Regions from separate parts of the Homo sapiens genome. Here regions 2, 3, 4, 5, 6 and 7 are each linked to region 1. The links are contacts of gene promoters, found by promoter capture Hi-C in human tissues and cell types (Jung and others, 2019). All regions are on one chromosome and are shown on one strand. The core of a region is centred on a gene start or on the middle of the fragment in contact, and the rest is flanking DNA. Distances in the headings are between cores, read along the strand shown. Region 1 holds the start of UCK1 (uridine-cytidine kinase 1). Region 2 overlaps MED27 (mediator complex subunit 27). Region 3 overlaps NUP214 (nucleoporin 214). Region 4 overlaps NUP214 (nucleoporin 214). Region 5 overlaps NUP214 (nucleoporin 214). Region 6 overlaps NUP214 (nucleoporin 214). Region 7 has its middle 23 kb from the start of FAM78A.

What was found. The method cuts DNA at HindIII sites, captures the fragments that hold promoters and counts their contacts. A contact is called where the count stands out against the background at its distance.
Region 2: a contact is called between a fragment that was not itself captured here and the fragment with the promoter of UCK1 in region 1, in 4 of the 25 tissues and cell types used here (aorta, bladder, dorsolateral prefrontal cortex and 1 more).
Region 3: a contact is called between a fragment that was not itself captured here and the fragment with the promoter of UCK1 in region 1, in 4 of the 25 tissues and cell types used here (H1 embryonic stem cells, IMR-90 fibroblasts, dorsolateral prefrontal cortex and 1 more).
Region 4: a fragment that was not itself captured here is called in contact with the fragment with the promoter of UCK1 in region 1 in 2 of the 25 tissues and cell types used here (dorsolateral prefrontal cortex and spleen).
Region 5: a fragment that was not itself captured here is called in contact with the fragment with the promoter of UCK1 in region 1 in 2 of the 25 tissues and cell types used here (dorsolateral prefrontal cortex and spleen).
Region 6: a fragment that was not itself captured here is called in contact with the fragment with the promoter of UCK1 in region 1 in 3 of the 25 tissues and cell types used here (dorsolateral prefrontal cortex, hippocampus and spleen).
Region 7: a contact is called between a fragment that was not itself captured here and the fragment with the promoter of UCK1 in region 1, in 4 of the 25 tissues and cell types used here (H1 embryonic stem cells, IMR-90 fibroblasts, aorta and 1 more).

The regions. Positions count from the first base shown.
Region 1 is chr9:131,529,038-131,533,187 of GRCh38, forward strand. UCK1 (uridine-cytidine kinase 1) reads right to left here and starts at 2,226. Exons shown (of 7, transcript NM_031432.5): 1 at 2,030-2,226; 2 at 1,449-1,608; 3 at 451-547; 4 at 91-233; 5 at 1. The coding sequence starts at 2,137. RefSeq lists enhancers at 1-677, 1,383-2,296 and silencers at 1,712-1,761, 1,962-2,321, 2,462-2,631. The HindIII fragment of the contact is 11,870 bases long and covers 1-4,150 here.
Region 2 is chr9:131,963,283-131,967,432 of GRCh38, forward strand. All of the region lies in intron 3 of MED27 (mediator complex subunit 27), which reads right to left. Among named protein-coding and RNA genes, the nearest start is that of MED27, 110 kb to the right of the region's middle. RefSeq lists an enhancer at 1,793-2,294. The HindIII fragment of the contact is 3,909 bases long and covers 458-4,150 here.
Region 3 is chr9:131,146,816-131,150,965 of GRCh38, forward strand. It overlaps NUP214 (nucleoporin 214), which reads left to right. Exons shown (of 36, transcript NM_005085.4): 14 at 675-769; 15 at 3,509-3,595; 16 at 3,801-3,950. Among named protein-coding and RNA genes, the nearest start is that of NUP214, 23 kb to the left of the region's middle. RefSeq lists a silencer at 2,967-3,261. The HindIII fragment of the contact is 3,709 bases long and covers 186-3,894 here.
Region 4 is chr9:131,166,310-131,170,459 of GRCh38, forward strand. The region is part of intron 21 of NUP214 (nucleoporin 214); the gene reads left to right. Among named protein-coding and RNA genes, the nearest start is that of NUP214, 43 kb to the left of the region's middle. The HindIII fragment of the contact is 5,096 bases long and covers 1-4,150 here.
Region 5 is chr9:131,184,923-131,189,072 of GRCh38, forward strand. NUP214 (nucleoporin 214) reads left to right here. Exons shown (of 36, transcript NM_005085.4): 25 at 2,367-2,442; 26 at 4,131-4,150. Among named protein-coding and RNA genes, the nearest start is that of NUP214, 61 kb to the left of the region's middle. The HindIII fragment of the contact is 5,069 bases long and covers 1-4,150 here.
Region 6 is chr9:131,212,929-131,217,078 of GRCh38, forward strand. It overlaps NUP214 (nucleoporin 214), which reads left to right. Exons shown (of 36, transcript NM_005085.4): 31 at 2,284-2,440. Among named protein-coding and RNA genes, the nearest start is that of FAM78A, 62 kb to the right of the region's middle. The HindIII fragment of the contact is 4,973 bases long and covers 1-4,150 here.
Region 7 is chr9:131,251,174-131,255,323 of GRCh38, forward strand. No RefSeq gene overlaps it. Among named protein-coding and RNA genes, the nearest start is that of FAM78A, 23 kb to the right of the region's middle. RefSeq lists a silencer at 1,441-1,757 and enhancers at 1,464-1,513, 2,709-3,210. The HindIII fragment of the contact is 9,598 bases long and covers 1-4,150 here.

The DNA.
Region 1 (4,150 bases), core at 976-3,475:
ACTGCAGCGGCAAGGGGCAGGCGTGCTTCAGACCTCAGGACCTGCCGCCAGCCTCGGCCAGGCAGGCACGGAGGCCCGCGGCCGCCTTACCTCTTCGAGACAGCCTGACGTCGGAGTCGGTGTCCACGAAGAGGCGCAGGTGGAACATGTCCCGGATCTCCTGGCTGTAGAACACCAAGATGCCCTCAAACAGAACCACGTCCGCAGGGTAGACCACCGTGGTCTCTGGTAACCTGAGGGGCGCACGGGGAAAGGGGCTCTGCTGCAGACACAGGGTCTCCAGGCCACACACACAGTCAGCTTCCATTGCAGGGACACTGACTGTGGGAAGGGGTGGGGGACCCACAGAAACCAACCGGGGGAGGCCTGCCGCCAGGCAGGTCTGTGTGAGCCCGAGGGGACGTCCTAGCTGGCCCCTCTCCTCGGCCCTCCCTAGAACCACCTGCTTACCTTGAGTGTGTCACAAAATCATAGGTCGGCACCTCCACCGTTTTGCCCTCCACGATGTTCTTCAGAGTCCTGTGCATCAAATCATTATCAAAGGCATCTGCAGGGTTGGAGACAAAGGCAAGACAGGCAGATGCCCTCGTGCAGCGGACAGCAGGGAACCCTCTCTGCTCTGGGGTCAGCACAGCTGGGTGCTGGGGACACCGAGAACCCTAGCACAGGTAGACTAGGACTACGGCAGTGTATGTTTGGTAGCAACAGTGCCCTCTGCAGCCCTGCAGACCACAGGATGACCCTGTCCTTGCTGTTCTCGGGCTGTGCCACTGCCCAAGCTCTGTGCCCCTGAGATGCCGGAACACAGGGGTTTTCTGATCAGCTCTTCCTGGGAGGTGGGTAGGCTGGGCCTCTGCTTCTCTCTCTTTCTGGGACTAACTGGTTAGACTGCGGCTTTGCAGGCCTTCTTCCCACAAGTCCTTGGGAAAAGGCTGACCATGCCAGCCAGCCAGGGTGGAATCTTCTAGCAGTGGCAGGTGTCTCCCTGCCGCATCTGCCCGTTTACCTGGCCCGGAGCTTCAAGCCACCAGCACTAGTTTACCTACCGCCTCCCACACTGGCCTCTCTGAGGACTTTGCCCCAAAGCACGGGAGGGCACAGTGGGCAGAGGTGTGTGTGGAGGGCCCTAAAGGCCCCAACGTGGGAAGGGAAGATGGGAGGATTTCTCCAGGATCACAGTTGTGGCAGGGCAGGGCAGGGCTCCCCACAGTGCAACAGGCTTCCTGACTGGCTCCAACCACGCTCCTGGGGGGACACTCAGGGCCCAGAGAACTCAGCAAAGTTCCCCTGACTTCACTGTGCAGCCAACTCCACTGCAGGCTGCGTGGCGAGTTGGGGGAACAGCCCAAGCGGGTCTGCATCCATCCAACCTTGGGCCCAAGCGCAGCTGGTTAGCGGCCGCCCAGAATGGGGTCTGCCCTCCCCACATCGTTGGGCTCGCGATTTACCTGGATGGTCAAAATTGTACTGTCCTTTCAAGGCCTTGGCCTTCTGCTCTGCCGTCAGGACCTTGTAGAACCTGTCCTGGCTCAGGATGACCACCTTCCGCTGCCGCTGTTCCACCTCGTTCTGTCCCAGCAACTCCATGATCTTCTCACACACGGTCGACTGGAGACACAGAAGCGGGATTCCCGCCTGGAACCGCTCGTCCTGTGACAGGCACGGGGCCGGCTTCTGGAGACACTGACCCACCCGCCCCCTGGGGGGTATGCTCGGAAGGCGGGAGGACACCAACAGGTGTGGATGGTCTCAGCGGAAGGGCCGCGGGGGCCCAACGGGGTTAGCACGGACTTGGGGCTCCGAGGAGCCCGGCCGGCGGAGAGGCTGTGGGGGAGCCCCGAGGCCCAGCGCCCCAACCCCTCGCCCGCCCCAGCCCGCCCCGGCCCATCGCGGCCTGCAGCCCCTTCGCTCCCGCGCCCTGCCCCTGCCTGGCAGGGGGCCCCTCGGCCGGGGCTGGGGTCTCCTCTCTGGACCGGGCCGCCCGTAGGCACCGGCGAGAGGCGAGACCCCGGCCCGCTCGGCCCCTTACCTTCCCGCTGGCAGTGCCGCCGCTCACCCCTATCAGGAAGGGCCGCTGGTGCGGACGGTCGGCCTCCGGCGCGGGGCTCTCGCAGTCTTCGCCTCCCGCCGAAGCCATCTCGGCCTCCGCTCCCGCGCATCGGGTCCCCGCGCCCGCCCCTTCCCCAGGCCCGGCGCGCCCGCCCAGCGCCGAGGTCGGAGGCAACCGGAGCGATCACTTCCGGGAGGCGCGCGGGGCACGCCGGGAGTTGTAGTCCACCGGGGGGGGGGGGGCCGCGCATGCGTGAGGGTGCAGGGCCCGAGGCCGGCACACCAGGAGCGCCCGCGTCCCATTGCGCCGAAAGCTGGCTGGCAGGGACTGCTGCGCCCGGGCCTCGAGCCGGCTACAAGGTCTCAGACTCAAGTGGCCCGGAAGGTGCCCGTTCCGCACCCCGAGGCTGGGGCTGCGCCTTCGTCCGAGTGCTTGCCTCTGCCTCGCGCTGCCTCTGCGCCAGTCCCGGGCCCTCCCCCGGCCGCCCCCGGGCCTGGCCCCCTCCAGCCCAGGCTCCTCTTGGCCATCGAGGCCTCCGGACTGTCCGGACGCCTCCCACCCCACCCGCTGCTGGAGCCGTCGGGGCGCCCCGGAACGTGGCGGGGGCTGTCGCCTGATGACTTTAGGCTCGCGCCTACAGCGCGCCAAGGAGGCAGAGGCCCATGTGCCGGGTTCCATCCCTGCCGCCCCCCCGCTCCGTGCCTGGCACAGAGAACGTGACAGGCAAATTCTGATCCATTGAAATTATGGATTTCCAGCCGGGCGCGGTGGCTCACGCCTGTAATCCCAACACTTTTGGAGGCTGAGGCGGGTAGATCACGAGGTCAGGAGATCGAGACCATCCTGGCGAACACGGTGAAACCCCGCCTCTACTAAAAATGCAACAAATCAGCTGGGCGTGGTGGCGGGCGCCTGTAATCCCAGCTACTTGGGAGGCTGAGGCAGGAGAATCGCTTGAACCCGGGAGGTGGAGGTTGCAGTGAGCCGAGATGGTGCCACTGCACTCCAGCCTGGGCCACAGAGCAAGACTCCGTCTCAAAAATAAAAAAGAGAGAGAGATAGCTAAGGCTCGGGGCAGAGCATGCTTTTCATATACAAAACAGACAACCCCGGGCGGACGCGGTGGCTCACACCTGTAATCCCAGCACTTTGGGAGGCCGAGGCGGGTGGATCACGAGGTCAGGAGATCGAGACCATCCTGGCTAACATGGTGAAACCCCGTCTCTACTAAAAATACAAAAAATTAGCCGGGCATGGTGGCGGGCGCCTGTGGTCCCAGCTACTCGGGAGGCTGAGGCAGGAGAATGGTGTGAACCCGGGAGGTGGAGCTTGCAGTGAGCCAAGATCACGCTACTGCACTCCGGCCTGGGGGAAAGAGTGAGACTCTGTCTCAAAAAAAAAAAAAAAAAAAAAAAAGACCCCAAGTCTACAGCCCCAGCTACCTCCTTATCTAATTCTCGCCTTTGGAGGCAAGATTCTCCCTGCCCTAAGTCACCCAGGGCCAGGTATCAGGTGACTAGAGACCACTCTGCAGCCCAGAGCCTGCTAGAATTACTCAAACTAGCCAATTTTAAACTCTTTCCCTGCCCTGCCAGGCCTTTTCCATGGAAACCCCAAGAAAGCCTCAGGCCTGGGCTCTCCCCTCGCCCCTGCTTCTGCCTCCTGACCAAACCTGGGGTTCTCTACTGAGAACCGTGCATGGCATGGGTGCCCCTTCTCTCAGGAAATGCGATCAATCTTGCGATGGCTTTGGCCTCTCCTCATGGTCATTCAGCCGTACCTCTGTAAATTAAGCCCCAGGCACAGAACAGTGCCTAGCAAACAGCCACGCTGCTGGCTTAGATCTGTCCAGGTGTGTGTCCCAAAGGTGGCCATCCCCCAAGCCAACTTTGAATTTGTATCAAGGGAGAGTTAGACACGGTTTCTTGCCATTTCTTCCCCTGTGGTCCAGCCACGTAGCGAAAGGCAGGGAAACTAGCAGAGTCTGACCAGGGGCTGTCCCTGATACCCCTGGCCTGGGTCTCGTGTGCCCTCTCTGGTGACTGGCCACAAGGCATGGGCTGCCAGGGCCAGTCAGGCTATTGCGTGGTTCCGCTCCCA
Region 2 (4,150 bases), core at 1,162-3,661, 430 kb after region 1:
AGAGAACAAAGACCCCCTGAGGTTAGCATTTCTGAAACAAAATGGCCAGAAATTAAGTTTAGATAATTTCAAGGGATATATTTCAAGTGTGACTAGCTTAAAGTGGCAGGCCCCCTAACTTAAACATGAAAATTTTTAAAGCCCCCAGAAGCAGCAAGCAGAAGAAGATGGGAACAAGGGAGACACCTATATCATGGCAAAAGTATTTATGACACTAACAGCTGTAAGGAGCCAGGCTCAGTGCCCCAGCCTCCCCTCATTTGTCCACCACTGCTGGAGAATGTGCCCTTTCTCATTAGCAAAGGTTTCAGATCCTTCATGCCTATCTCTTCGAATGCCTACGCTTAATTTTTTCTATTTTTATGAGTATCTTTTTAAAACAAAGATATACTTACATTTATTCCTAACGAGAAAACAACTTAACTTTTGTGAATGTTATGAGCATCGGCTCCTGTGCTTTATATTTATAGTTCTGTCCATCTCCTCTCTTGTTATATAAGCATTGGCTCCTAGCTGTTGTTAGTATGTGCGCTGCATGTTTCCAAATTCGTTACCCTGACAACCCGGAGAAAATGGGCTTTGTGAGAGGGTCTTTGACAGTATGGGAAACCCATAACAGCACTTTCGGTTAGGCCTCCTCTCCATACTTCTTGGTTCTTGACTGCGTTCCAATTTATTACGGGGGTTAAAAAATGAATAGTGAATAAGTGAGTGTGCCCTTCTATGATGTTGACTACCCACCCAGAGTAAGTACTGATCTGATTGTGAGGAGAGTGGAGAAGGTGGTATAGAAGCTGAAAGGGTTAAAAATATGGGCTCCAGTGAACCTGGGGAAGTAATTAATCACTCTGAGCATCAGTTTCCTCATTCATAAAATGAAGATTGTAGTTGCACCTAGTTCAGAAGGTTGTTAGGATTAAATAAGGTAATCAGTGTTAAGTGCTTAGAACAGTGTCTGACAGAGTAATCACTCAATAAATAACAGCTGCCAGCAGTGATGGTGGTGGTTGATAGCGATTGTGGTGGTGCTGGTGCTGGTGGTGGAGGTGATGGTGGTGGTGGTGGAGGTGATGGTAGAGGTGATGGTAGTAGTGATGGTGATGGTGGTGGTGATGCTGGAGGTGATAGTGATGGTGGTGGTGGTGGTAGTGTTGGTATTATGCCTGTGAAGTAATATTCAGGCTCCTTTGTGCCTTCAGTAACTCCTTCACTGCCAAGATGGTCAATGAAAATTTCAGCCACTAAGACAAATCACTCTAGCCAAGTATCAGACAGGACCACAAATACAAAACTGGGTATTTTCAATAACATAAGAACAAGAGAAAGAAGGCGGCAAGGAGAATTTGGATTGGTGATATTGATACCTAACCCCCATCCTAAATTCTCTTACTTAAACCTTGAACCAAGGACGTGCAATTCTTATAAGACAGCGGTCTGTTTTAGAAAGTGGAAGGCATAATGTTTAAGCACAAGGGATCAAACTGGTCTGCTTTGATGAAGTCCTTTCCGATACAAGGACATATTACCCATATTTTAAGCTTTCCCATGGTACTATGCTAATGCATGTTCAACGCTACATCTAAAATCCCACAACCCTTCCAGCAATTCCATACTCAGTTCTTATTTTAAACTCATTGTATTTACATGCCTACACCTTTTCAATAAAGGCTTTTTAAAAGTGAAAGTACAATAAACTTACATACATTGTGTATGCATTATGACTTTTATTTATCTGGATTTACAGCATTTGCAGGTAGTTTCACTTAAGTCAAAAAGGTTTGGGAAGGTGAAAAAGTTCAGATCCCTTAATCTTTTCTTCTGAAAATAAATTATTCATGAAGCTCTCTCCCTCATTCCCAAATGGTTAGGTTTAAACAATTGCTTAAAGTGCTGATTTTAACTGACGAACACATTATTCATAAAGCCTACAGCCCAGGAAACACTTACTTGCTAACTGGTCATTTTCATCTGATCAATGACTTCACAGAGTTGAAACATACCACAGTGGAATGTGCTTCTAGCGCGAGGCCATGGCATTAAGTGCCTGACTCTCATGAACAAAGCAAGCTGGTTAATGGTCATTTTACGGTCCACATACTACTCTGAAATCTATTAGAGTGTGGCTTAGTCAACCTTATCAGAGATGATTTGGGGGTACTCAGCACAGTGGGAACCTTCCTGTAACAGGTTAATGGATCAATTTATTTATTTCAAATCTGTTCTTTTCAAGTTGAAAAGCCACTAAAGACTTTCCAAGAGATCAGCTCAATAACCACAAGGAGAGGCAGTGATGCTGGATCTGTTGCTCTTGGTCCTTCTCTGTCACTTATGGTTCAGAGCCACCGGCTCTCTGGTGACACCACAGCAGAGCTGAGTGAGATGAAAGTCTGGCTTTGCCTCTTAGGAGTCTACATGTCGATTAAAGTCCTGGGATACCTTATGTTGCAAGGCATCACCTCACTTTTTCTTGAACAAAAAATAAAGGATTCCACTTAACAGACCCTAGGCTGTTCCCCTTTCTTGATAAATGTTATTTCAAATTTTTGATAAAAACATGTCACTAACTTTAGACCTGTATCACCACCACCACCCGCTGGGAATTCTCTTTTTAAATTAACACTTTTTCAGAGTATTGTTTTGCAAAATATAACGCACCATTGGAAAGTAACCAAGCATCAGCAAGACAGCAGGTGACCTTCAGAGACCCGGGAGTCTTTAGTGCTCGCAACCATGCGCATCCCAGAGAGGACTTCCACCTTGCAGTATGGTCTGACGCCTAAGAATAAAGACTGCATTTTGGCCAGGGGTGGTGGCTCACACCTGTAATTCCAGCACTTTGAAAGGCTGAGGTGGGAGGATTGCTTGAGGCCAGGCATTCGAGATCAGTCTGGGAAACACAGTGAGAGCCTGTTTCTTTAAAAAAAAAAAAAAAACAAAACAAAACCAAAAGCAACTGATTTGCCAGGCATGGTGGCATGTGCCTGTAGTCCCAGCTACTCAGAAGGCTGGGACAGGAGGATCACTTGATCCCAGGAGGGCTGCAGTAAGCCATAATTGTGCCACTGCACTCCAGCCCAGGCAAAAGAGCCAGACCCTGTCACAAAAAAAAAAAAAAAAAGGAAAGGAAAGGGAAAAGGAAAAGGAAGTGTATTTCCACTAATGGTCCCTAAACTCAAGATTTCACAGACCAGGCAAGAGGAAGCTTTATTTGTGCTGAATTTCAGGTTACATGCTATATGGCTAAAAACCCAATGTTATCCCTAACATAAAAAACAACAAGTTTAAAATGTCTTTACTTAGGATCCCTTGTACTCTTCTAGTATCACTTTTAATGAAATGGTTGAAAGCAAGAGCTTTGGAGTCTGTCAGTCACTATACTGATGCTGGGTGGCATGATCTAGTGGACAAGGACCCGGACTCCCGACGCTTCAGTGCCCAAGTTCAAGTCCTTGCTCTGGCAGGACCTGAGCTAGCTATGTGACCCTAGCCAAGTCACTTAACCTCTCTGTGCTTCAGTTTCCTCCTTTACAAAAAATACCTAATAATATCAACCTCACAGGAATTCTGGAAGACTCAATGACTAAAAAAATGCAGAGTACTTGGACTCTAGCACGTAGCAAGTACTATCTGGATGCTCACCAGAGCTATGACCATCTTCACTCTTCACTAGCTGTGTGGCATTAACTTTCTTGTATCTCAGTTTCTTCATCTGATAAAGAGGAACAATACTATTTCACTCACAGCATCGCTAAATAACCATGCATGTAATGTGCTTGGCACAGGGTCTAGCATATGATATGTGCTTGATATGCAGTAGCTATCATTAATGTTCTATCAGTAATTGAATACTTTCTTACACTGTTCTTTACTCTGTACAAAAATCTTTGTGCTTGAATAAATATGCCATAAGTTTATTCAAAATATAAACTCTAGGCCATTCCAATTTGTGGGTGTTAATTCAAAATTTTCAGAAATGCATGGTACAATTTTCGGAACTGTACCTTCCCAATAAATCTCTCTTAAATGTATCCCCCATGACACCACCACTGTGAATCAACAAAAAATGCTCAATGGCTACTTGCAAATGGATAATTTTAAAATTAAACTGAAGTATAGATTTTAAAGTGATTACTTCTGCTTTCATTATCAG
Region 3 (4,150 bases), core at 790-3,289, 380 kb before region 1:
GCTACTCAGGAGGCTGAGGCGGGAGAATCACTTGAACCTAGGAGGCAGAGATTGCAGGGAGTCGAGATCACGCCACTGCTCTCCAGCCTGGCGACAGAGCGAGACTCTGTCTCAAAAAAAAAAAAAAGTACAGAGGAGAGAGTACCTGCAGTGATTATATTCATATTTTCACAGTCAGTCATACTGTAAACAGGAAGTTTTGTTTTGTTTTTTGAGACCCTCTCACTCTCTCACCCAAGCACATCACTGCAGCCTCTACCTCCTGGGCTCAAGCGATCTTCCCACCTTAGCCTCCTGAGTAGCTGGGACTACAGGCATGTACCACCACCGTCGGCTAATTTTTAAATTTTTTTGTAGAGACAAAGTCTTGCCATGTTGCTCAGGCTGGTCTCAAACTCCTGGGCTCAAGCAATCCTCCTGCCTCAGCCTCCCAAAAGGCTAGGATTACAGGTTTGAGCCACCATACCTGGCTCCTAAAATTTTAATATATTTTTTTCATTATCTTAGAACAGAGGCTAGCACAACTGGTGGTCATCACTCTTTAAAATAAATCATGAAAGTGGGCCAGGGGCAATGTGTAACTTAATTTCTTAGATTTGGAGAAAGGACATTTGTGATAGGAGAAATAAAGGTAATAAATGCCATCTATTTTAACTGACTTCTTTTTCAAGCAGGACGATCTGCTCAGGGCAGTTCAAGCCCAGTGCCCTCAATGGTACAGAAATCACCCAGGATAACCCCTCCAGCGGCAAAGCCAGGCTCTCCCCAGGTATGTTTAAATTCAGCTTGCAATGTTTGTGTTTATTAATTTACTGCCCCAAGCATACCTATGAATAAAATGAGTTTTCATGTTTTATAATTCAGACCTTGGACATAGTAATTGGGACTATGTGATAGTAAATACCAAAGTGCGAGGTTTGAATACTTGTATACTCGTAAAAGCCATTTAGCTATTTTAATTTTTTATTCATGTATAATACAAATAGAAAAAAGTACACATGATACATGTACAGCTCAGTGAATTGTCAACAACTGAACATACCTTGGTAACTAGCATCCAGATCAAGAAACAGAATTTTACGAGAACCTGGCTGGGCACAGTGGGTCATGCCTGTAATCCCAGCACTTTGGGAGGCCAAGGCGGGCGGATCACCTGAGGCCAGTAGTTCGAGACTAGCCTGGTCGACATGGTGAAACCCCGTCTCTACTAAAAACGCAAAAATTAGCCGGGCGTGGTGGCACGTACTTGTAGTCCCAGCTCCTGAGGAGGCTGAGGCATGAGAATCACTTGAACCCGGGAGGCGGAGGCCAGAACCCCAGAGTTCTTTTTCACCTGTCCCCTTCTAGTCACTACTCTTGCCAAAGAGTAGCTGATTTGATTTCCAACAGCATAGATGAGGTTAGCCTGCCTGTACCTCCTATCAAGTGGATTTGTACAGTATGTATTCTTGTATCTGGCTGCTTTGTTCAACATTATGTTTGTGAGATTTATCCATGTCGTTGTATGGAATTTATTGTGTGATTATATTACAACTATTTGTTCCACTCTGATGGGCGCTTGAGTAGTTTCCAGGTTTAAGCCATTGTATGTAGCACTGCTATGACCGTTCCAGTTGACATCTTCAATGAACACATATGCAAGTTTCTCTTGGGTGTATCCCTATGAGTGAGATTGCTGGGTCATAGAATCTGCATGTATTCCTCATTAGTAGATTCCCACCAAGAGTGTATGAGACTTCTGGCTGCTCCACATACTTGCCACTCTTGGTATTTTTCATCTTTTGTTGTATGGTTTTGTGGTTTTAATTTGTATTTCTCTAATGATTAGCAAAATTAAGCTTTTTAAAAGATGATTATTGGCCATTTGAATATTTTCTTTTATGTTGTGTCTGTTCATGTCTTTATTCTGTTTTTCTGTTGGATTGTCTGGCTTTTTCCTTCTGATTTTTAAGAGTGAGTTCCTTGAATACACACACACACGCACACACATACAGTGCAAATATGTTCTCACTGTGAATTGTCTATTCATTGTCTTTTTTGTTTCTTTGATGAATACACATTCTTCATTTTAATATAATTAAGTATATCAGTTTTTTCTTTTATGATTAATGCTTTTCATGTTTTAGAAATAATTTTCTATTTCAAGGTCAAAAAGATGTTTTTCTAAAAGCTTTATTATTTTATCTTTCATATTTAGATTTGTAGTCCATCATCTCAGTTTATTTTTATGGTATAATGTAAAGAGAATTGTATGTCAGTTTCCCACGTGATTACTTGAGTGCCCTGAGAATAAGCGTTATGTCTTTTCCTTTCTGTGTCCCTCTAACCAACCCTTGTACCCTAACACACACCTGTACTAGGTACATAGTAAGTGCCCAGGTCACAGTTCACGGTGTGGCATGATGCATGACATACAGTGTTTGTCAAATAAATGTTTGCTGTTAATGAATGCTGATGCAGTCTAAGACCTCTCTAGTGTTAATCGTTGTAAGTATCAAATAGTCTAAAGGGCATTTCAAATTATAGTATCTTTAAAGCAGAACTCTTGATTTCTGTCTCCCCTAGAGGCTAGTCCTTTTCCAATGGGTAAGTAGCACTAACAAACCAGATGTTTGCACAAGCCCCAAGCCCCGAAGCATCCTAGATCCCTCTCTTTAACAGTACCTGTCCCCAGTCCAGGCTGGCGGGAGGTCTTGTCAGCTCCACCCTCTGCTGTGTCACATGTCATAAGCCCACAGCTCTGTCCCCCTGCTAGCATCCTGTGTCAAGCTGTTGCACCTCTCACCTTGTTAACCTCTCGACTACTCTCTCTGCTATCCCTGCTCTACATAGCAGCAAGAGGGATCTTTTAAATCATAAAGGAGATTTAAACTCTTGTAAAACACCAGTAGTAGCTTTCCAACACGTTTAGAATAGAACCCAAACTCCTTGGTGTGACCTTATATGACCTACCCCGGCCTGCCTTCCTGACTCTACCCCTGCCCTCTACAACGCCTCCCCTGACTTCACAGAGCCCACATTTACTTTTTTTCTTTGCTAAGGTTTCTCCTGCCTTGAGACCTCTGCACTTGCCTTTCTTGGTGCCTGGCAGGTGCTTCCTGAAGATCTCATAGCTTGCTTTCTGCTTGCAGCCTCCGTTCAGATGGCAGCCCGCAGTGAGGGCTTTCTTGGCCATCTCATCTGAAGTAGTGCCCTTTTTTATTCTCTTTATGTTTCCCTGTTTGTTCTCCAACTGAAATTATCAGATGTGTTTATATTTTATTATTCAACATGTCCCAGTAGGAGGTAAGTTCCATAAGAGTTGGGCCCTCATCTACTTGTTCACCTCTACCTGCACTGTCTAGAACATGCCTTACACAAAGTAGAGACCCTATAAATAAGGATTCGTTACAATGAGTGAAGAAATAATGACTGTGTTACAGGAGCGCCACTCCCTGTAATAGGCTCTGATATAATTGCTTGTAGAAGCTATGACTTGCAGTTTTTAAACCTTTTCCTTCCATTTCAGGCAAAGTCACTTCAGCCTGCTGTTGCAGAAAAGCAGGGACATCAGTGGAAAGATTCAGATCCTGTAATGGCTGGAATTGGGGAGGAGGTAAATTTGTTTCCTGAGGGTGTTTTTCTGAAAGTAGCTGACAGACTTGGATGGGTCAGAGTGCCAACCCCTGTATGACTAGTTAGTTCATTCTAGCGCTGAAGCATGGCCCATCCCAGCAGTCTGAGCAGTTAGTAAGCACGATAGCAGTGACATTACTGTTTGTCCTTCAGACTGAGTAGTTCCTCACTTGTGGCTTCTACAGATTGCACACTTTCAGAAGGAGTTGGAAGAGTTAAAAGCCCGAACTTCCAAAGCCTGTTTCCAAGTGGGCACTTCTGAGGAGATGAAGATGCTGCGAACAGAATCAGATGACTTGCATACCTTTCTTTTGGAGATTAAAGAGACCACAGAGGTTTGTGTTTATGGATACTTTTCCTGAGTTGAATTGCATTTAACAATTTTTTTCTCCTAGTACTCCATGGGGTTATGTACTTTATTTCTTCAAGGACCACCAGTGTTGTTGTTTTTTTAACGTGGCTGAGTAGCTTGCCTAGAATCCCTGAGTTCAAATCCTACCTTCAGCACTTAATAAATTATGTGACTTTGGGCAAG
Region 4 (4,150 bases), core at 974-3,473, 360 kb before region 1:
ACAAATCTTTAGCCCACATCAGATTATATATTTAGATAGAGTCCTTACAAGTGAGATTTATGTAATTTACTTATTCATTCATTCAATAAATATGATTGCCTAGTTTGTTCCAATCAGTGGTAAATAAGAGAAACATGGTCTCTGCCCACATGAAGCTTTTCATTTAAGAGGAGGAATTCAGACATTAAGCAGATAACTGCACATGATACTCATTTAATGTTAGTGGGCATGCTGGGAAGAATAACTCAGCATGTAAACACTTTGAATTTTTAAAATTGTGAAAAACAACACACATTAAGTGCACAAAACAAAAACGTATATCCCTGTAGCCTCTACCCAGGTCAAGAAACAGAATATTGCCGTTTTTTAGAAGCCCTCTTGCATACCCCAGTTTTCCTTCTTCCCCTAAGGCACGATTATATGGGCTTATGTGAGAGTTTTGCCTTTGCCTTTTTTTTTTAATTTGACATTTTTTGTTATTTTTAATTTATTATTTTGAAAAAATTGAAACTTCCAATTGCGAGTACAGTAAGCACCCACTTACCCCTCACCCATATGTTTACTACTGTTTGCCACAATTGTTGCTGAACTATCTGAGAATAAGCTGAAGACAACGCCCCTTATTCCTAAATATTTCAGCATGTGTCCTCCCAAGAACAAAGGTGCTCTCTTACACACCATAATACAGTTTGCAGGTTCAGGAAATTTAACGTATACAGTTATCTCATATACAGTTGATACTCAAATTTTGCCGGCTGTCCCACTTACCCCTACACGTTGATTGGATCTAGGATCCAATCCAGGATTCTGCATTGTGTAAGTTGTCATTCTCTTTAGTCGCCTTTTCTTTGTTTTCCTTCAGAGCTTTACTATGTAAGCATACCTCCCAAAACACTATGATTTGGTTTTGCCTGTTTTTGCATACCACATAAATCCATTCACTTAGTCTCTGGACAGGCTTCTCTTGTTCCACATCAGGCTTGTAAGATCCATCCGTGTTGTTGCCTCTAGCTGTTATTTTAGTTGCTCTGTATAGGATTCTATTGTATGAATATGCTGTATTTGTTTATTCATTTTCCTGTTGGACATGTGCTGCTTTCAGTTTATAGCTATTACAGAAAAGGTTCTGAATATTCCCGTGTGTGTCTCTCGGAGCACATGTGTACTTTTCATTTGGTTACATAGCTAGGAGTGGCATTGTTGGCTCATAGTCTGTCCATATGCTCAGCTTTCATAGACTCTGCCAGGCGGTTTTACTAAGTGGTTGTACTTTATCATCAGTAAATGAGTGTTACAGTTGTTCCACATCTTTGCCAAACTTGATATTGTCGGTCTTTTTTCTTTTAACTATTCTGGTAGGACTCTTTTGTAAAATGTTTTAACCATTTGGATATGTTCTTTTGTGGAGTACCGAATTAAATCTTTTGCTCATTCATTTATTATTGAATACTCTGTCTTATTGATTTGTACATGTTTTTATCAATTCTGGAGACCAGCCTTTGTTGGTTTTGTGAGTTGCAGATACTCACTTTGCCTTTTTGTCCTCTTAATTATGTCTTGGTGAACAGAAGTTCGTTTTTGTTTTTGTTTTTAGAAACAGACTCTTGCTCTGTTGCCCAGGCTGGAGTGTAGTGGTGCAGTCATAGCTCACTGCAGCCCCAACCTCCGTGGCTGAAGCGATCCTCCTGCCTCAGCCTCCTGAGTAGCTGGGACTATAGGCACAGGCCAGGCCACCATGCCCAGATAATTTTTTTAGTTTTTGTAGGAACATGGTCTTGCTGTATTGCTCAGGCTGATCTTGAACTCCTGGCCTTACGTGATCTTCCTGCCTCAGCTTCCCAAAGCGCTGGGATTACAGATGTGAGCAACTGTGCCCAGCCTGGTGAGCAGAAGTTCTTAATTGTAAAATAGTGAGATTTATCAGCCTTTTCTTTTATAGTTAGTACTTTTTGTGTTCTGTTTAAGAAATCCTCTATCTCTAGGTAATGAAAGTAGGTATGCACCTTTATTATCTTCCAGAAACATTTAAGTTTGTCTTTCACAATTGGATCAACTTTATTGAGGTATAATTTACATATAAAACTCACCTGCTGGTAGCTGGGTGCTTTTTACTAAGTTTACAGAATTGTATACCCATCACCACATTTCAGTTCTAGAACATTTCCATCACTTAAAAAGTTTCCCCAAGCTTGTTTGCAGTCAATTCTTGTTCTACCCAAGCAACCACTGATCTGCTTTCTTTCTTCTTGGATCTGCCTTTTTAAAGAAATTGCATATATTATGGAGTCTGATAGTGTTTGGGTTTAGGTTCTTTCACTTAGCATGTTTTTGTTGTTCACCCATGATATGTACCATGTATCATTAGTTCATTCCATTTTGTCATTGAACAGTATTCCACTGTATAGATATATTTAGTTCACCCTATCAATAATTGATTTTTGTGTGTGATATAAGGTATGGCTCATGTGTCATTTTTTTGTGTTTGGATATCTGCTTGTCCTAACACTATTTATTGAAAAGACTCTCCTCCCTGCTTAGCAGGGCCACTTTTATTATAAATCGTTTATCCCTATACATGTATGTTTGTTGGTCTCATACACTGATTAGAAAGCACTACTGCCACACTGCCTTAATTAGTGCTCAAATAAGTCTCAATACTGTTCTCTTGCTAGATTCTAGAGGTGTTCTGTCCAATATGGTATTCTGCTTACTTTGTTTTTTTTTGTTTTTTTTTTTTTTTTGGAGACAGAATCTCGCTCTGTTGCCAGGCTGGAGTGCAGTGGCATGATCTCAGCTCACTGCAACCTCTGCCTCCTGGGTTCAAGCAATTCTCCTGCCTCAGCTTCTTAAGTAGCTGGGACTACAGCTGCGTGCCACCAAGCCCAGCTAATTTTTTTGTATTTTTAGTAGAGATGGGGGTTTCACCGTGTTGGCCAGGATGGTCTCGATCTCCTGACCTTGTGATCCGCCTGCCTCAGACTCCCAAAGTGCTCGGATTACAGGTGTGAGCCACCACGCCCAGCCTCTGCTTACATTTAAATTAAATAAAATTGCAAGGCAAGGTGGTGCATGCCTGTAATCCCAGCTGTTTTGAGGAGGCTGAGGCAGGAGGATCACTTGAGCCCAAGAGTTCGAGGCCAGCCTGGGAAAGGAGTGGTGAGACCCTGTCTCAGATAAATATATAAATTTTAAAAAGAAAAATAAGTAACATTTAAAATTTAGTTTTGCAATCCCAGTAGCCACATTTCAAGTGCTCAGTAGGCACATGTGACTAATGGCTACTGTAATGGCAAACACGTATAAAGAACATTTCATCATTGCAGAAAGTTCTACAATTCAGAGTAGGGGTTGGCAGATTTTTCTGTAAGGGGCCAGCTGGAGAATAGTTGAGGTTTGCAGGTGCTGTGGTTTCCATTGCACCTACCTAACTCTGCTGTTGTAATGGGAAAGCAGCCACAGACCATGTGATGAGAGGGGCATGTCTGTGTTTCAGCAAAACTTTATATTTCTGCAAAGAGACAGCTGGTCTATGGTTGTAGTTTTCTGACTCCTGCTCTAGAATGTTTTGCCTTTCTTGGTGTTTTACATTTTCATATTAACCTTAAAATTGTCTTGTTAAATTCTACCTCCCTGTACCTAGAGTAGTCAAAACTATAGAGACAGAACTAGAATGGTGGCTGCCGGAAGCTGGAGGAGGGAAAATGGGGAGTTAGTGTTTCATGGGGATGAAGTTTCAGTTCGGGAAGATGAAAACGTTCTGGAGATAGATGGTAGTCACGGTTATACAACATTAGGAATGTATTTATGCCATGGAACTGTACACTTTAAAATGTGACTATGGTGCATTTTATGTCATGTATATTTTACCACAATAAAAAAATAAATAAATAAAAAAGAAGGGAGGCAGGAGAATCGCTTGAACCCGGGAGGCAGAGGTCGCAGTGAGCCGAGATCATGCCGTTGCACTCCAGCTTGGGCAACAAGAGCGAAACTCCGTCTTTAAAAAAAGAAAGTTTTGGGGGAGGAATTTTGCCTTCCTCAGCCTTCAAAGGAAAGTTGAGATTTTGATTGGAATTGTATTGAGTCTCTAGATCAACTTGAGAATTGACATTTGTGCAGTAGTGAACTCTCAGTTCCTGAACTGGGTACA
Region 5 (4,150 bases), core at 958-3,457, 340 kb before region 1:
CTTTGTTTCTTCAGTTACTCTTGATAAGTTCCACTCTCTCATATATGAGTATGTATGAAAAGATACATGTGATAGTGATTAAGATTTACCAAAATAAAACATAACCAGGTCTCTTGTTTTTTATGCTTTTTAAAATCCTGAAATAAGTTACAAGAAGTTGAGGCTTTTTACAACAATGGGATGAGTATTTACCTTGTTGAAGTTCATTAAAGTTGGAGGGATCAATAGCAAAGGGCCTAGGTGACATTTTAATGCTTCACAACCCAATTTTATAATTGTGTGTAGAGTACACATCCATGGAACATGTGTGCATTTGTCTGCCTCTGTTGGCATGTAGTGCTGGTAATGTGTGGCCAAAAACAGAAAAAAATGACTCTTCTGTGTTTTATTTTTCTCCAAGAACCCGAGTTTCCAGACTCTTAGTGATCTGTGCCTCTGTCGCTCATTTCTGAAGCAGGAACTTTAGTGTTGCTGGCAATGTCAGTGTCATTTGTAGACTCACTCAGTAAAGAGATGTCTCTTTGGGGCTCTGTTATAGCACCATTTTCTTCTTAGAACAAATATCAAGATGAATTTCTGATATTTTTCAACTCCATATTGCTAAAAAGTGGAATAAAGTCACCTAAGATATGGATACTTCTGAATTTGGCTTTTCTATCTCTTGATCATTTCTAGCTATTGATTTCCATTGTTTTGGTTCATGCTCATGCAAAAACGTTTGAACATATTTGTTTGAGAGTATACTGTTTTTTTCTGTGTGCTGTCTTGGATCTTGATAAGAGATTTATTGGATCTGGTTTGTTAATTGGTTTACTGGCTGATTGCACTGAACAGCATTTCTTTGCAGGGGTGTCACGTGGTGTGTAGGTACTGTGAATCCTAATTTTGTGTATTTGGGGATTTAGGATACTCAGGAGATACATAGAATTATCACAAATAAATAGAATAATAATTACACTCAGTCTTATTCATGCATAATTTACTATCATGTCACAATTGAATTCTGGCTGTAAAAAATTTTCTAAAATTTGGATAAATTGCTGCTTTTATTTTTATTTCTGATTTCTGTTTGTCTTTGAGAAAGCATGAAAGAGTTTCCTTTCCTTTGTAATCCTTGTGAGCTCCAACCTCTTCTCTAAGCAAGTCTGCTGTGTCTGTCCAGGTACTGCTCAGGGCCCAGCAGTCTCACTCACACATTCTTTTCCTCTGGTACAGATTCAGCGGAGGTGACGGGGGAACACTGTATCTGTATTGCCTGCTTGGTAAACTATCTCAGGGGAACAGAGATGTGTTTCTCCAGAGAGATGCATATTTATAGCTGCTTCTGGCTTCAGTAGAAGCATGAAACGGGTTTTGTTTCATTGAACATAAGTTCACTTTTTCTTCTCTCTCAATCTAATAAAGTCTGTTTAGGAAGGTCCCCTTGTTATTCCAGCAGAGAATCTCAATATGCTTGTAAGGTTTGTTAAGCTGTTTGATAATTTTCTTCCGTGAGGCACAGGCCTATCTTTTATCTTCTAAGTTCATTTTTGATGGAAAATATGAATCCTCCCTAAATCTAGGGGAGTTCTGAAAAATAACCAGGTCCTACAACTACTACTGCTATATATACCAGTCAGAGTAGCGCTGGGCTGACAACAGATAAATTGAAAAAATTGCCGCTAGGAGCCAAGAACTTTTGTGTGTGATTACACTAACAGGTAGTTTTCCCATATGTGAACACTAGTTATTGAAATAACAGTTCCTCACATACAGTATTCACCTACTTCAGAGTTAACAAAAGATGATGAGAGCTCTTTCTGCGAATAGGGGTATACTTTTCATGCTGTAGCAAAGATGCAGGTTGGGAATGGAACAGTGGTACATTTGAATCCCTTGGATGCTGACCTGGTGAGCCCTGGAGATAGCTGCTGTGAGAAGCTAAGATCTCTTTGGATAGCACCTTTGCGGTAGCAGCGAATTGGATGCATAGGTGGCAGTGAGAATGCTTCCCATAGAGCCTGCTTGGGTAAGAGAATCAGGAATTTCTCGTGGTCTACAACAGGGGGAAGGGCCAGGGAGGAGGAGGGCTTATACTCTGGATAGCAAAAAGATCTAGTTCTGAATGGTTACTAATTTTTTTCTTTGGATTGCAGAAAGGAAATAAGTTATAAGGCCACTGCTTTGACTTTCATGCTAAAAACCCAAAGTTCATTTTTAAAATTTATCCTTCAAAAAAAATGTCAAATCAGTTGTATTGGGGTCCCATGCATCTGTATCCTACCCAAAACTGGTATTGTATATTGGACAGAAGGTTGGCTTGAGAATGAATGTGATTTTTACCTAGTCATGCCTTTCTCTGAGTGTATGCTTTGTGTGTTTTTCAGTTCTTCAGTGCCCTACTCCACAGCCAAAACACCTCACCCAGTGTTGACCCCAGTGGCTGCTAACCAAGCCAAGCAGGTAACTTACTGATTTTTACTTTTTTTTTTTTTTTTTTTTTGAGACAGAGTCTTACTCTGTCGCCCAGGCTCAAGTGCAGTGGTGCGATCTTGGCTCACCGCAACCTCTGCCTCCTGGGTTCAAGTGATTCTCGTGGCTCAGCCTCCTGAGTAGTTGGGATTACAGGCACCCACCACCATGCCCAGTCAATTTTTGTAGTTTTAGTAGAGACGCGGTTTCACCGCGTTGGCCAGGCTAGTCTCGAGCTCCTGACCTCAGATGATCCATCTGCCTCGGCCTCCCAAAGTGCTGGGATTACAGGTGTGAGCCACCGTACCCGGCCTGAGTTTTACTTTTAACATTCATGCCGTGTCTGTCTTTGTAAGTGAAGACCATACTGTTTTTAAGTCTTGACTTTGTTTAAATGAACCATAAGTCTGATAAAGGCCCATAATCCCTTCCCCACAATTTATGCCAGTCTTGACATGGCTGTTAATCAGGGTAGGTCAGTCAGGACCTGATACTGTCTTCATAGGCCATTTAAACATTCTGCACCTAGTAATTTGGGGTCATAATTCTAATACCATACATTTTTATATGAAGTATTTTGCTTTGCAGTTTACTTTCACATTATCTCAGTTAACCCATACAACAGCCGTGTACAGTGGGAGGATAGGTGTTTAGATATGTCTCACTGGTGAGGCAGCCTAGGCTTGAGTGACCAACGCAAACTCTCACGATTAGTAAATGGTGGAACCAGAGCTGGGACCCAAGGCTTCTGACTTCCTCCTGTCCATTGCTCGTTTCACTACACAGTTGAGTATCAATGTCTGGGGTATAGGTTATCTGGTTTTCTCCTGCAATCCCTGTTTGTCAGAGTTTGCATATTTTTAGTGATGTTATGTCTAGCTTGTCTAGCTTCAGGCTTTTGCCTGATAAACATTGTCCCTTAGAAAAATAGGTGATATTGCAAACAGTTAAACAATCCAGAAAAAAGTGATAGGGGATGGTTGGAAGGTCAGTCAGGCTAGTGCTGAAACTCTTCCTAAGAAGTTCTGGTTTCTCTCACTACTCTTACATCTGTCTCTGAGATGAGTAGTTTGTGTTAGAGATCAGAATTTGAGACTGGATATCAGGACTTGCCTATTTAAGTTCTCAAACTTGCCTCTGTTCCTTAGTTTACCATAACTTAAAATGGCATTTAAGCATTTAGCATTCGATCTTTCTTCTGGAGGTATTTGTGTTCACCATGGAAAACACATGATAAGGCATAAGTCATGGCGAGTGAAGGAACATTGACTGGAGATGGATAAGTCAGTTTTGCTTTTAACCTTATTGTACATGCTTTGAGAGCTAGAACCATTTTATTAATTTACTCCTTCATTAATTCATCTACCTAATAGTCAAGTGCTTTTGATGTGCTAAGCACTGTGCTAGGCACTGGGAAGATAGCCATGAACTAGGCCAGTGTGACTGCCTTCTTGGAGCTTGCAGAGTATTTCTATTTTCATCCTTTAATATGATCTTACATATGGTTAACTTAAATTGAGACCTTTTTTTTGTTTCCTTTTTCTTTTTGGTAATTTATCTAAAAGTATTTGTCCTTGCTTATTTTAAATTATATTTTTGTGTTTACATTTTACATATTTCTTTGTTACAAAGAATGGTTAGTGGTTTAACATAAACATTTTGCTTGCATTCTGTTATAGGGGTCTCTAATAAATTCCCT
Region 6 (4,150 bases), core at 827-3,326, 320 kb before region 1:
GGTGTCTGGAGGGTTCATTATACTCTTCTGTCTGCTTTTTGTAGTTTTTAGATTTTCCATAATTTTGTAGTTTTTAGATTTTCCATAATTTTATGTTTTAAAGCCTGTTGTTATTTATCTCAATTAAAATGAATGGAATTCTCTCTCACCCATTTATGAGGATGCAATAACTATCAATTCATGTTGACTTCAGTAAAATATGTTAGTGATCTACTTCATTTTCATGGGAAGCCATTATTTATCAAATCACTTTTTTTTTTTTTTTTGACGGTGTTTCGCTCTTGTTGCCCAGACTGAAGTTCAATGGCACTATACTGGCTCACTGCAACCTCTGCCTCCCGGGTTCAAGCGATTCTCCTGCCTCAGCCTCCCAGGTAGCTGGGATTATAGGAATGCACCACCACGCCCAGCTAATTTTGTATTTTTAGTAGAGACAGGGTTTCTCCATGTTGGTCAGGCTGGTCTTGAGCTCCCGACCTCAGGTGATCCACCTGCCTCGGCCTCCCAAAGTGCTGGCATTATGGGCATGAGCCGCTGCACCCAGCCTGTCAAATCACATTTTAAAAATTAAGCTGAACCATTTGAGGTTTCTGAGCTTTTTCAGGCAAAATGCTCATATACTGGCAATTTTCTGTGTTTCAGCCTGATGCATGGACGTCAGCTAAGCAGTCAAATACCTTCCACATGCATGCATTCATTGTTAGGTTTTCTAACTTTCCATGGCAGTTTACTAGTTATCAGGGCCAATGCTGTTAGGACTGAATTGGATTCCTAGTTTTTAAAAGCTGTGACTCACCATTAAATGGTTGTAGTGAATTGGTACTGTTGTTGTTGTTGTTGTTGTTGTTGTTGTTGTTGTTAAGAAATTTAAAGGGGGAAAAAAAAGAGACTAGGAAGTACATTAAGTATGTTACCCTAAGACAGAAATTAGCTTGTTGTATTTGAGGCACAGAAGATATGTGTGACTGCCCTGAGTGAGGGGGAGGATGATAAAAGATGATGTCAGAGCAGTGGAAAAGGGACAGATCATGTTGGGCCTTCTAGAATTGGTAGACAGGAGTGAAATGATGTGACTGCCATTGCAAGTAGTGCTCCAGCTGCTGTGTGGACGTAGACTGTAGTGGGAGCAAAAGACCAGCTAAGTTGTTGCATAGTCTGGGCAAAAGGTTGGGGTTAGGTGGCTCAGACCAGAGTAGAAAGGAGGGGATACCCTAGGGGGTGGGGGGCATTTCAGAAGTGGCCCACTGGAGGTTTGATGAGTAGAGATTAAGTGATTACTTAGAAAATACTTAGGAATGTGCCTAGCACATACAGAGTGCTTGATTTTTGGTTCATTGTGGTTAAAACACTGAACAGCAACCATTTTTTGAGCATATAAGTCTGTTTCAGGCTCTGTTCTAAAGTGTGTTACATTTCTTGGCTCACGTAATTCACTCTCCGCTGTGTTGAGATGGGTAGTTTATTACCACCATTTTACAGGAGAGGATCCATAGCACCGCTCTGCTCTTGCAAGTTTCTATGCACAGTGGCCCCTTTCCAAAGTCCATCTTATTCTGCATTCTCAGCCACGGAGAGATGACACTTAACTAAGGTGAATGGCCCCTCAAATGTAGCCCAGTTGTTCTTTAAGAACCAGCTTCCAGAGAAGTTAAGTGTCTGGGACCTGACACAGCCTCGAGTCAGCATTTGCCCCTGTGCTAGCAGCATCCTCTGAGCATGAGATTTGCAAACTTGGACAGAATTCAGCTTTGGTCATCATTTCAACAATGAAGCTAATTTAAGCTTACTTCTGCAGCACTGGGAAAGTCATTATGAAATAAAAGTGCACAAATGGAGAGAAAGACAGTGAAAATCACTTATCATCCATTGCTAATGAGTTCAGCCAAACGCTGGAGGAATCAGAATAAGTGGTGTCCGTAATAGCTTGTAAATGTTTTCGAACTTTTTATTTGGTGGATCTCTTGTGGGGTTGGTTTTCCTGACCCTGGCATTGTGTCAAACAGACACTGCGGGCAGTGTAGCAGATAAACATTAAAAGTTCCCACCTACCATAAATCATGTTTTCAGAGAACTGTGAACATGGAATAGCTTGAGAACTTCTCATAGATAGGAAGTCCCTGTCCAGAGTCTAGCTTCTTTTGTGGTGGTTAGAGCATTTGTACCAGAACTAATCTTGCTTTTTCCATTTGTGCCAGCTGTGAGCACCTCCTGCCCACGGATGCAGCCTGCCATTTCACGATGACCTCTCATCCTATCTTGCTTCCTGACCCTTTTGTTTTTTAGCAATCATCCTCTTCCAGTGGTAGCGTGTTTGGGTCTGGAAACACTGGAAGAGGGGGAGGTTTCTTCAGTGGCCTTGGAGGAAAACCCAGTCAGGATGCAGCCAACAAAAACCCATTCAGCTCGGCCAGTGGGGGCTTTGGATCCACAGCTACCTCAAGTAAGTTGAGAAGACTTTTCCCAGTCCCTTGGTCCCCTAATGCCATTGTCATTCTTAGGGTGTTATCAAAGCTTCAGTGACAAATATAAAAAGAAAAAAAAATCTAGAAGGCTCATTTAAAATATCTTCCCCAAAGCAGTGTGATCTGTTTTGCTTTTTTATTTTTGGTTTTTTAATGAGATGTCCTATATAATCATGAAAAGATATCAGAGCTGCAGGGAGAGGATCTGTGTATTGAGCTGCTCCCCTCTTCTCTCCCAAGGCCCAAATCGCTCTGTTTCTTAGTATTGGAGTGACTTGAAGTGAATGCAAGCAGACAAGCATAAATGAGCAGCAGCAGAGCAAGCCGAGGATGCTGGGAGGAGAGCATGCAGACTTTCATTTGGATAGTACTCTCCAAATTTTCCTTAAAATTCAGCTCCTGTAGGGAGATGTCACCCAAAAGTTGAAGCCTTTAATATTTCTCACCTCTTACATTTTTGTTTTATTTTCATCTGAAGCTGTATCTGCCAGTACTTTCTTTAGCTAATTTTTTTTTTTTTTTTTTTTTTGAGACAGAGTTTCACTCTTGTTGCCCAGGCTGGTGTGCAATGGCGTGATCTCAGCTCACTACAACCTCCGCCTCCCAGGTTCAAATGATTCTCCTGCCTTAGCCTCCCAGGTAGCTGGGATTACAGGCACGTGCTATCACGCCTGGCTGATTTTTATATTTTTAGTAGAGACAGGGTTTCACCATGTTGACCAGGCTGGTCTCAAACTTCTCCGCCCGCCTCGGCCTCCCAAAGTGCTGGGATTACAGGTATGAGCCACCATGCCCAGCCTTCTTTAGCTAATTTTAAAAATTCTTTTTTTTTTTTTTTTCTTTTTTCTTTTTGAGACAGAGTCTTGCTCTGTCACCAAGGCTGGAGTGCAGTGGCGTGATCTTGGCTCACTGCAAGCTCCACTTCCCGGGTTCATGCCATTGTCCTGCCTCAGCGTCCTGAATAGCTGGGATTACAGGTGCCCGCCACCAAGCCCGGCTAATTTTTTATATTTTTTTTAGTAGAGACGGGGTTTCACCATGTTAGCCAGGAGGTCTCGATCTCCTGACCTCATGATCCGCCTGCCTTGGCCTCCCAAAGTGCTGGGATTACAGGCGTGAACCACCACGCCCAGGCTTTTTTTTTTTTTTTCCTTTTTTTTGAAACGGAGTGTTGCTCTGTCACCCAGGCTGGAGTGCAGTGGTGCAATCTCGGCTCACTGCAACCTCCCAGGTTCAAGCAATTCTCCCAGCTCAGCTTCCCGAGTAGCTGGGATTACAGGCACCTGCCACCAAGCCTGGCTAGTTTTTGTATTTTTAGTAGAGACGGGGTTTTACCATGTTGGCCAGGCTGGTCTCGAACCCCTGACCTCAGGTGATCCGCCCACCTCAGCCTCCCAAAGTGCTGGGATTACAGGCGTGAGCCACCGTGCTCGGCCTTAAAAGTTATTTGTTGACCTGTGTATTCATGGTTGGAAATGAAAGAAATCTGTTTGTGTAGATCTTTATCCTGCTGCTCAGGCGGAAGCTGAGATTAGAAGTTGGGAGCCTGTCCTGTTTGTCTCAGCTTCTCTCATTTAATGTGCCCTACATGAAGTTTCTCTCATCTGTTGTGCTGTGTGAGATCTCCATGAATCATGAGCTAGTGTTCTGCAGTCATGACAGATGTTTCCTTAATATTAAGGCCTGTG
Region 7 (4,150 bases), core at 887-3,386, 280 kb before region 1:
GTCTCGAACTCCTCACTTCAGGTGATCCACCCGCCGCGGCCTTTCAAAGTGCTGGGATTATAGGCGTGAGCCACCGCACCCGGCCGCACCTATGCTTTTGATGATGAGTCCAATGACAGTGATTGCGGTTAACACGGATCAAACCTTAGGCACTGGCTGCCCACCTCGGTCAGGCTGCAACCAGGAAGGAGGCAGCCCACCCTCCAAGGGACACGTGGTCCACATGAGCAGCTCGGCCAGGGGCCTTTCTTCCACCCACCTCATCTATCTGCCTCATTTATACCAAGTGGGCCCGGGACAGATGCCGGCCACGGCGCTGCACAGCCTCAAAGCATGTCCAGCAAGATGGCCTGTGGGGTGGGGGACCTCACCCCTTGTATTGTTTTGTCCTCTCAAAGTCTCAGCTAAAATTGGGGCAGCAAATAAAAGCTTTTTGGGCGGTGGGGGGTGGGGCAGGGATCGGGTCTCGCTGTGTGACCCAGGCTGGAGTGCAGTGGTGCAATCACAGCTCACTGCAGCCTTGAACTCCTGGGCTCAAGCAATCCTCCTGACTCAGCCTCCGGAGGAGCTGGGATTACAGGCATGCCCCATCACGCTGGGCTAATTTTTTCTATTTTTTGTAGAGATCAGGGTCTTACTATGTTGCCCAGGCTGGTCTCCACTCCTGGGCTCAAGTAATCCTCCTGCCTTGGCCTCCCAAAGTGGTGGGATTACAGGCATGAGCCGTGGCGCCCAGTCAAGAAAACCATTTTATCATCCTGTTACAACAAGGTCAATAATAGGTGTTAGCTATTGGCGGTTCTGTGCTGAGGGCCTTGCCTGATGACCCCCCGGAACCCTCCTCCCTGTGAGGAAAGCGTAACCCTGTCTTGCAGATGAGGAAACCGAGGCTCAGTGGTGCCGCCGAATCACTCGGATTTGCTAAGCGCTTACTCTGGGCTGGGCACTTGTCCAGAAGCTCAGGACCATCGGCTTCACGTGCCTCCGCAATCTCGTGAGGTGAGGAACCACCTCCGTCCCCACTCCATGTCCTAGGAAACCGAGACCTGAGAGGAGGGGGACTTGCTCAAGGTCACAGCCGTAGAGGCACCGCCCGCCCAGGAGGGCTCACATGACCCTCTCCGGCCTCCAGGCCCAGCTGCAAGAGGAAGCACCGTCCTGGGGAGCCCGGAGACCCAGGCCCCCCTCACAGGCGAGGGGCTGGCACGCGGCCTCTGGAGGAACTTCTGGCCTTCACCGTCTCCGCCTGGTCACTCGTCAATGGCCGGCTGCCTTCTGGAAAGCTGCTGCTGCGCGACAGTGACCCTGGGTGGAGTGAGGCATCCACGGGTGCTCGCTCCCAGAGATGGAGGCCGGAGCCCTGAGCAGAGGCGCCGGCTGTGCCCCGGTCCTCTGTGGCCCCCAGGGCTGCAGAGCTGGGCAGGTCGATTCCCTTGTCACTCCTAAAAGAACATTTGAAGCCCCCAGCAGGCTGGTGTGGGCACCCCAGTTCCTCAGCTACTCTGGGCTCTCCTTCCCCAGAGGCTGTGGGACCTGCCTTCCGGCCTCCGTCACATGACCGCACAGCGAGGAGGCGCTTCTGTGAACCAGGAGGTGGCCCTCACCACGCAGAAACTGTGGGCGCCTTCATCTTGGACTTCCAGCCTCCAGAACTGTGAAGGATTGGTTTCTGTGGTTGACGAGGCATCCGGTCTATGGTTACTTTATTCTAGAGCCCAACTGGGCCAAGGTGATTGTACGTATCTGTGAATATACTAAAACCATAGAACCGTACACTTTCTATTTGCTTTTATTTTGTGAGACAGGGACTCACTGTCGCCCAGCTGGAGTGCGGTGGCACGATCAGGGCTCGCTGCAGCCTCGACCTCCCACCTCATTCTCCTGAGTAGCTGGGATGACGAGAATGTGCCACCGCGCCCAGCTAATTTTTGTTGTTGTTGTTAGCTTTTTGAGATGGAGTCTCACTCTGTCACCCAGGCTGGAGTGCAGTGGCACAATCTCGGCTCACTGCAACCTCTGCCTCCCGGGTTCAAGCAATTCTCTGACTCAGCCTCCCGAGTAGCTGGGGTTACAGGCGCCCGCCATCACACTCAGCTAATTTTTGTATTTTTAGTAGAGACAGGGTTTCTCCCTCTTGGCCAAGCTGGTCTTGAACTCCTGACCTTGTGATCCACCTGCCTCAGCCTCCCAGAGTGCTGGGATTACAGGCATGAGCCACTGAGTCTGGCCTATGCCTGGCTAATTTTTAAGTTTTTTTGTAGAGATGGGGTCTCACTATGTTGCCCAGGCTGGTCTCAAACTCCTGAGCCCAAGATCCTCCCACTTCGGTCTCCCAGAGTGCTGGGATTACAGGCAGGAGCCACTGCACCGGCCAGAACCGTACACTTTTTTTTTTTTTTTTAAATGGAGTCTTTGTCACCCAGGCTGGAGTGCAGTGGTGCAATCTCACTGTAACCTCTACCTCTCAGGTTCAAGTGATTCACCTGCCTCAGCCTCCTGAGTAACTGGGATTACAGGCGTGTGCCACCATGCCCTGCTAATTTTTGTATTTTTTTCAGTAGAGACAGGAGTTCGCCATGTTGACCAGGCTGGTCTTGAACTCCTGACTTCAGGTGATCTGCCCGCCTTGGCCTCCCAAAGTGCTGGGATTACAGGCAGGAGCCACCACACCCAGCCAGAACCGTACTTTAAATAGGTGAGTTGTGTGGTATGTGAACTGTATCCCAATAAAGCTGAGGTAAAGCATTTTAATACGTTTGTGTGACTGTCTGACCAGCATTCAGTCTGCATTTGTCATGGATGCTGAGAATCCCACATCACTAAGCCAGGCCCCTGTGGTCTAGATGTTGCAGAAGAATTGAGCCGTATTTAGAGAGAAGAGTCCCTGGTCTCTGAGCTAAGCCCTGGTGCTCAGTGTGATTATTCTGGGGGCTCCATTTGCATGTTTAACACGGAGCACAACTGCTATGCCTTTGCTGGGCCCCGGACCGGGGAGGACAGGGTAAGTGTGCGTGTCTCTGGCCTGACGATTAGGAAACTCAGGCATGTGAGGTTGAGCGACAAGCCTGGCCTCACTCAGCAAGGCAAGTGGCAGCCAGGAATAGTGCAGGGCTCCCAGCTGTGTCTGGCCCGCCGTAAACACCCACCCTTCTTCTGTCTGATTGAAAAGGGAACATGAAATAAGAACCAGGGCTCAGGCTGATACAGGAACTAATCCTGCCTCTGCATTCCAAGTCGTGCCGTCTGGGCCTGAAGGGAGCTGGGCTGGCCTTCGCCAGTTCCCATGTTGATTTCGGGTTCACCTCCCTGCACACAGGCACAGAGATGGAGTTCATTCACTCCGACGTGTTCGCTTGCATTTAGTAGTTTCCATCGGCCGGGCGCAGTGGCTCAAGCCTGTAATCCCAGCACTTTGGGAGGCCGAGGCGGGCAGATCACTGAGGTCAGGAGTTCGAGACCAGCCTGGCCAACGTGGTGAAACCCCATCTCTACTAAAAATATAAAAATTAGCCGGGCGTGGCGTGGAGCGCCTGTAATCCCAGCTAGTCAGGAGGCTGAGGCAGAATTGCTTGAACCCGGGAGGCAGAAGTTGCAGTGAGCTGAGATTGCACCATTCCACTCCAGCCTAGGGGACAAGAGTGAAACTCCGTCTCAAAAAAAAAAAGTTTCCATCGTCCAGGGTCAACAGGGCTGCTAAGGACTCGGACTCAGCGTCATGCCGAGGAACCTTAGCAACAGGACAGCTGAGGGCAGTCTGGTAGAACTGGGGTACCAGAAGGCTGGGGTGTCATAGAAGGAGCTGAGACAAAGCACGGGGTCAAAGGCCGGGTGTTTGAAACCAGCCTAGCTCTGCATCTTCCCAGAAAAGTGACCTTTGGCAAGCCCCTTGGTCCCTTCTGTGGGGCAGCGTCCTCACTGATTGAAGGGGAAGAGCATACTTGAAGGGTCAGCAGTGGCAGGAAGGGGCCTGGACAGCACCGGAGTGGCTGGTTGTGCCCTGTGATCCTGATGGGCAATTTTTGGACTGTCACACAGTAAAATATTTGCTTTCATCCTATGCCCAGACCCCAACCAGGTGGGAAGCCATTTCTGTGGGGGCGCCCAAGCAGGATAGAGGATGACCAAGAGAACCACCAAGCCAGAGGCGACA